Linked DNA regions of Homo sapiens: region 1 is linked to region 2. Evidence: promoter capture Hi-C in 16 types of primary human blood cells and fetal thymus (Javierre and others, 2016). All regions are on one chromosome and are shown on one strand. Each heading gives the region's core, a stretch centred on a gene start or on the middle of the fragment in contact. The rest is flanking DNA. Distances are from core to core; before and after follow the strand shown.

Region 1 (3,277 bases), core at 358-2,857, 350 kb before region 2:
AAGGTGCATACTGATATCTTCTTTCTGTTCAGAGTACAAATGTGAGAGAAAATAGATACATTCAGGAAGGAACTGTTAAGCAGAATTTTCAGTAATTTGTTATGGTGGCCAAAGTAAACTGATAAAGCTCTTAAGTGAAGAGAGGAATATCTTCTCATATTATTCAGAAGTGCTAATGCATGGATCCTTAGTGTAGACTAATATTAGTTTAGACAGTCTGATATTTTAAGTTAGCATTAGATACCTGATCACTACATGAAGATAGTGAATCAAAATGTGTTATTTTAATTCTCTGTCACTTGAACATTTAGGACATGCTCCTATCAGCTGTCAATTTATTTTTTTTAATATTAGCCTCAAATAATAAGAATAAATTAACTTTATCTTGAGCTCAAGTTCTTAAACTCACCAATCAATGATTTGTGAGTCATTCTTTTGTTTGTTGGTGGGTTGGTTTCTTTGTGTTTTCTTTTATTTGTTTGTATTTTAAGACATGGATTCTTGGGCCCTCAGCAAACCTTGTAAATTGATTTTCTGGGGCTGAGGATTGGATATTTATGTTTTTCTAAGGCTTTGTCAATTATTATGATAAACAACCATCTAGGAAACCATTGAAATTATGAAGCACAGCTGGATTTGTCTACCATTTCTTAAGTACCCCCTATGTGTCAGATATATATTAGATGAGTTTTACATAATGTTTATATGTAATCTTATAGGTACATGTTTAATTTCAGCTTTGTAGTTGGCAAATTGAGGTTCAAAGAAGTAGTAAAGCTGTTCCAAATCAGTAATTAGAAAAACTGATATTTGAGCACATATCTATTTCCAAAGCCCATTCTACAAAAAAAACCAGCAGTAAAGTAAAAACATTATTTGTTCATATTTCCTTATATATCCTATCTAGGTGGATGATGTGGGTAAGTCATTTAACTTCCCAAGATTTGAAGAAGTGTATAATAATATGTATCTCAAGCAGTTGTTATGAAGACTGAATTCAATTATGTACAGAATAGCACTTTGGCAACACTAGAGTGTCATGCAAATGTGATTTGCTTTACTATCGTTTTTGCTCTTACCTATTTCTTATTTATGGAATAAGTAAAGTATAACCATGTTATTTGGCAGAAGTGCCAGCTCTCACAAAATGTCGCATCTACTGCCAGCTGCTTCTATTCTTGTGGATCTAAGGCTTCCTCAATGGTTACTTTTGGAGCCAGACTGGATCAGTGTTCGAGTCCCAGCTCTGCCATTTACTAACTGCAGAATCATGGACTAGTCTTTCCATGATTTTGATTATTCACCAATAAAAAGGGAAAGAGATGCTGGTAATTTGAGGTCGACATTGAAATAATATAGAATGCTTATAATATTTATGATCATCATTAATTATCACATTACTGACAGTAGCTGTGTTAGTAAGATGGCAAATACATTTTGTGAGGTTCCACTGGGCACTGCTTATGAAGAGTGGCACAGGCAGGGGGTGAAAGAATGCCAGCAGTGAGGCAGTGTATTCTGCAGGGCATGGGAAAAAACCCAGGCCAGTTGCAACCCACCTGAATACTAACTCCCACTGTAGCCTGGATTGCATTCCTATGCCAGCAAAATGGTTTTTCAACTGTGGCTATTCTGTAGCAGAGTATCAGCAAGGAAGCCCCGGATACGGAAGCTAAAAAGAGTTTAATTATTTGGCACATATATATTATGCCATAAGTACATACACAAGCAGAATGGGAGAAAAGAATAAATCCCATGGCAGTTGGCAGACAGCCAGTTGGAAAGGCAATCATAAACCACTTGGGAACATTAAATAAGTCAGAATGCTATCTTCTAGCATATAATCTAGTAATGATAGCAATAACTACCATTTCATAAATTCCTGTGCCAGGAACCCTGCTAGGCTTTGTATGTACATTATCACTAGGCTACAAAACTCTATTGAATAAGAACCATTTATTACCTCATTCTGCAGATGAGGAAACTGAGGCACAGAGAAGTTAAAGAAGGCATTAATGGTTAAAGACCTGAGAAATATTGGCCATGAGATTTGAAATAGAGTCTAACTACCTGTAAACCCTGTCCTTTCCACTGCAGTGTGATGTCTGCATGGGACATTCTCATGTCTTGCATTTCTAGTCCTTTTATAACAACCACGGTTACGGGTAATTCTTCTGCTTTTTTATTTTGCATGTACCCCTCCCCAAAAAAAGGCACATGATAAATAATAAAATCATCATTGGTATATATAAATAGATGATAGATAGACCAGACAGATCGATGACAGATTAAGTGTGTGTGTATATGCACACCATCGCACTCTGTGACTTTTAAAACTATCTTGTGGATCTCCTTAGCACATCTCTTGTGCTCTGCTTATATTCTGGCCCAGATGTGCAGAGCAGCTAGTTCACAATAACCTCCCAACCACCAGTGTCATCATGTGCTTTGTGGATGAAGTGTGGTCCACTCTCCTGAGATCTGTTCACAGTGTCATCAATCGCTCTCCTCCACACCTCATCAAGGAGATTCTGCTGGTAGATGACTTCAGCACCAAAGGTAAGAAAACCACTCAGGCTATCTCTTGAAATTTCAAAGTTTGGCAGAAGCAAAGTTTAGTAGCAGTTTGGATGGCAAAATTATAGGATAATTTGATGAAGCATAAACATCGTACAAATGCTTTGTTTTACGTGGAGCCTCAGAGACATAAGTCTAAGCATCTATGGACGTTAAAAGTCATCTGGAGCTCTGTTCAGTTAGTTGTCTCAGTTGTAACTCTGCTACCATGTTGGAATGATCTAACTATGGCTCCTTGGAGATGGGCACTTAGAAGTAGTGGAGTTTAGATGTCCTCTACAATTGCACAAATCCCTTTTAATGGAATCACAATTAACGGGAGGCCTTGCCTACTGGTAATAACTAGAGTTACAGTTAGACTCTATGGAAGGCAAAGAAATTAAGATCTTATGGCTTCTTCCTTGAGAGCAAGGCATATGATGTGTTCAGTTAAGTGTTAAGAAGACAAATTGCCAATAGGACAAGAGAGATGAGGTGATTCCAACAAAGTTCAAAACCAGAATCCACCATAGCCTTTATGTTCATTTTTGCTTATTACAGTGAAGAATCTCACTCTTTGGGTTGTCAAATAACCTGTGTATGTAGGTGGTCTGACAGCCACATTACAAATTCCCAAATGGAACCCATTTTTCAGAAAAGTTTAGAAAATAGCAAAGACTTGGCAATGCTAATGGAACAGCTTACCCTTGAGCTGTGACCA
Region 2 (3,068 bases), core at 317-2,816:
AGTTGGTTTTCTCCCACTTATAAATTTATTAACTCTAAATGCAAATATTTCACTTTATCCCATCATCTTTCCGACAGTCTTGGGCTGTTTTCCTAAAAGATAACTGGAATGTTTTAATCCTCAGATTTTGTCAATTAATCCTTTTCAATAATCAAATTTATATTTGAATATTGTATTTAGTGATTCTCTCAGGCCATCTGAAACACTGAAATCTGTACATGACAGCAATCATATCATTCAAATCATTCTCTTGCACATGTCACTAAGAGGAAAACGACCCACCATGAATATAGCTATTAATGTCAAACAGATTGTCATCTGGGAAAACAAAATGCATCAAAATCAGCTTCGGACAAAACACAGCTCTATGGGAAAACACCAGATTTTTATGTGCAAATGTCTTCAATGTCTGATAGAAATTTTTAAAGAATGAGTTAGCAAAGAATCTGCTCCTCCTCTGCATAATCCAGGACAATGTAATGAAAATAGTTTTCGAGGTAAAGGGCTTTTAGTCACAGCATATTATGATTTTACCAAAGATGCATTTGCCCCACTTTCTAGTAAACATTATAAAGAAACGTCTGGCTTCTAGATTGGGTAGAGGGCTCTATTTAGCCTATCAAGGCACAGACCTGTTATAAACTCTGGGGCGCTTGCCAGAATTTTTTTCCCCAGGAACTCTGAGTAAAGATCGTACCTCGAAAGCAATGTGCGTTGCAAACCACACAGATTTAAGCTCCCACTCTCGCCTCCATAGCTTGGCATCTGCGGCTTTTGGGGTATTCCCCGCCTCCTAAAACTCAGACTAAATCACCACCTCCCACCACCACCATGCCACCATCCTTGAGCAGCTCTCAGGGGCTTAGCACAGAGCGCGTCCGACGCATACCTGCAGCCCTCCAGGTCCCTGCAGGGTGAACCCAGCTCCCAGCCATGCGCGCACCCACAAACGCTCTCCTATTTTCTCCGCTGCAAACTGCCCACAAATTAGTCACCCACCTCACCCCTACTACTTATTCCCCCACGTCCCTGCTGCCTTTTCCCTCTTCCGGGCGGCTTCGTCCCCAACACACCTGTCTACCCCTACGGCTGCCAGACGTCAGGTGCCCACGCTGCACCCTATCCCGCGCCCCCTCAATCCGACTGGCGCTTCCCTGTCCGCCCCGAAGGTCAGTTTGCTCGGAGCACCCCCTGTCCCCCACCCCCGTGCTCACCCGCAGACCTCCTCCCAGCTCCCACCCTCGCGGGCGTCGGGAGAGAAACCAGCACCGTACCTGGCGAGAGCTCGGCGGCCGCTGCGAGCAGCAGGAGAGCCTGGCGGAGCGCTGAGCAGAGCGCCCGGGTCATCGCCACCAGGCGGCCGCGCCGGGGCTGCGAGGCCCCAGAGCAGAGCGAGGCAGCCGGGGCAGCACGGCCCGCTTTGAAGTTCCCGGGCCGCGGGAGGGGAGCGCGGCACCGACACCCTTTTGAAGTGCGCGGTTGGCTCTAGTCAGTGTGGGCGCCCCCCTCCCCGGCCGCCCCCATCCCACGCCCCCTGCGGCTGGCGGTGCGCGGCGCTCCTGCCACTGGCCCCGCAGCCGGGCGGGGAGCGGGTGGTGGGGCGGGCGGCAGAGCCCGCCCCTGCCGCGCCTCCGCCCCCTGCGCCCTCTCGCAGCCGCCCGGGCCTGCTGCTGCAGGGCAGGCAGGCAAAGGCGGCCCTGTGCCCGGCAGTGAGATCGCCCAGAGCTGGGGCGAAGAAAGAGGGGGCGTGGGGAAGCAGTGCGGAGCCTCCGGGACTAGATACTCAGGAATGGGGCTTCTCACGGGAGGAAAAGCCCCACTGAGACTTTAGGGAAACTTCAACTACGCGGCGATTGCGCCCAGGTGATCCGCTCTATAACCTCCCGCAGAAGAGCCAGCCTCCTAGCTCTCCTGACGTTTGTTGTCCAGGGTCCTTAAGTCCAACCAGGTTGCGCTGTGAGAGCCCCGCGGGCTTCCTACTGGCTTGTCCCACCCCTGCGTCCTGGCCATTTGTGCCTCTGGGGAAGGGCGCCCTCTCTGTTCATCCCTGGAAATGACCAGTTGTCCGACTGCCTTCTGGACCTATAAGCTTTGGTTTAACAAACTTCATCTCTTCTTGGGTGCCTTTTGGGAACCCTTCCCTCTATGAATGGCGACCAAAGCTGGACCACCTGCGCCAGGTGATGTGGCCATCTACAATGTGTGACCCACGTCTGGTGGTAAAAGACCTCACCTATGGAAGATAATTTCGGCAGCTACAACTTCAGCAATTGAAGAACTAAGGGAACATACACACACACACACACACACACACACACACACACACACACACACGGATTAAGGGAAGGGGAAGAATTGTTTAAAGTAGTATATGAAAAACTTGTTTGAGTATTGTTTAATCCCTAGAGGCTAACTGTCAAACGGGTGCCTGAAAATATAAGGCCTGGATTGTGCCTGAAAATATAAGGACAACGGCAACATTACCAATTTATAGAAATTAAATTCAATTCACCTATGGAGCCTGAACATTAAAGTGAATGGGATTATTTCAATCTGAACAACGCGAAAAAGCAAGAATACAATACTGGTGTTATTACTACTGTTGGGGGTTCCTTGAAAAGTGATAGCGTCATAAAAATTGCTTTAGAGTAAAACATTTCTTGCTTCTTCACCTAGCTCAGGACTAAATTATATGCTAGGTGTTCTAAGTTCTATGAAAGACCTATGGTGAAATGTTGTATGTAATTGACTTTATTATCAAAGGATCACAGTATGGGAGATGAGATGGTTGTTGGACTTTGAGATGTGGGTGGCATCCTGAGGATCTTTTCTGCCACCATCTTATATTCCTAAGCACAAAAAAACTTTGTTCTTGTTTTATCCTGGATCCAAACAAACAAAAAACTGGAGATGTGGGACAAATCTGAGCCCTTTCAGACACCCACAAAACAGATGCTTTTTTAAAAAGGCAAGAAACTGCTAGGACACATTATATTTTGTCTGGTTTGGCTTGCTAATTATTTGATAACTGCACCTTAAATTGTGATCTGCCAATAGATCATGATACC

Evidence for each region. The method cuts DNA at HindIII sites, captures the fragments that hold promoters and counts their contacts. A CHiCAGO score of 5 or more calls a contact.
Region 1: a fragment that was not itself captured here is called in contact with the fragment with the promoter of ACVR1C in region 2 in 1 of 17 cell types (total CD4 T cells); the score reaches 5.4 in total CD4 T cells.

The regions. Positions count from the first base shown.
Region 1 is chr2:157,281,890-157,285,166 of GRCh38, forward strand. GALNT5 (polypeptide N-acetylgalactosaminyltransferase 5) reads left to right here. Exons shown (of 10, transcript NM_014568.3): 2 at 2,393-2,559. Among named protein-coding and RNA genes, the nearest start is that of GALNT5, 26 kb to the left of the region's middle. The HindIII fragment of the contact is 3,733 bases long and covers 1-3,277 here.
Region 2 is chr2:157,627,298-157,630,365 of GRCh38, forward strand. It overlaps ACVR1C (activin A receptor type 1C), which reads right to left and starts at 1,567. Exons shown (of 9, transcript NM_145259.3): 1 at 1,275-1,567. The coding sequence starts at 1,347. RefSeq lists a silencer at 1,282-1,511. The HindIII fragment of the contact is 11,498 bases long and covers 1-2,087 here.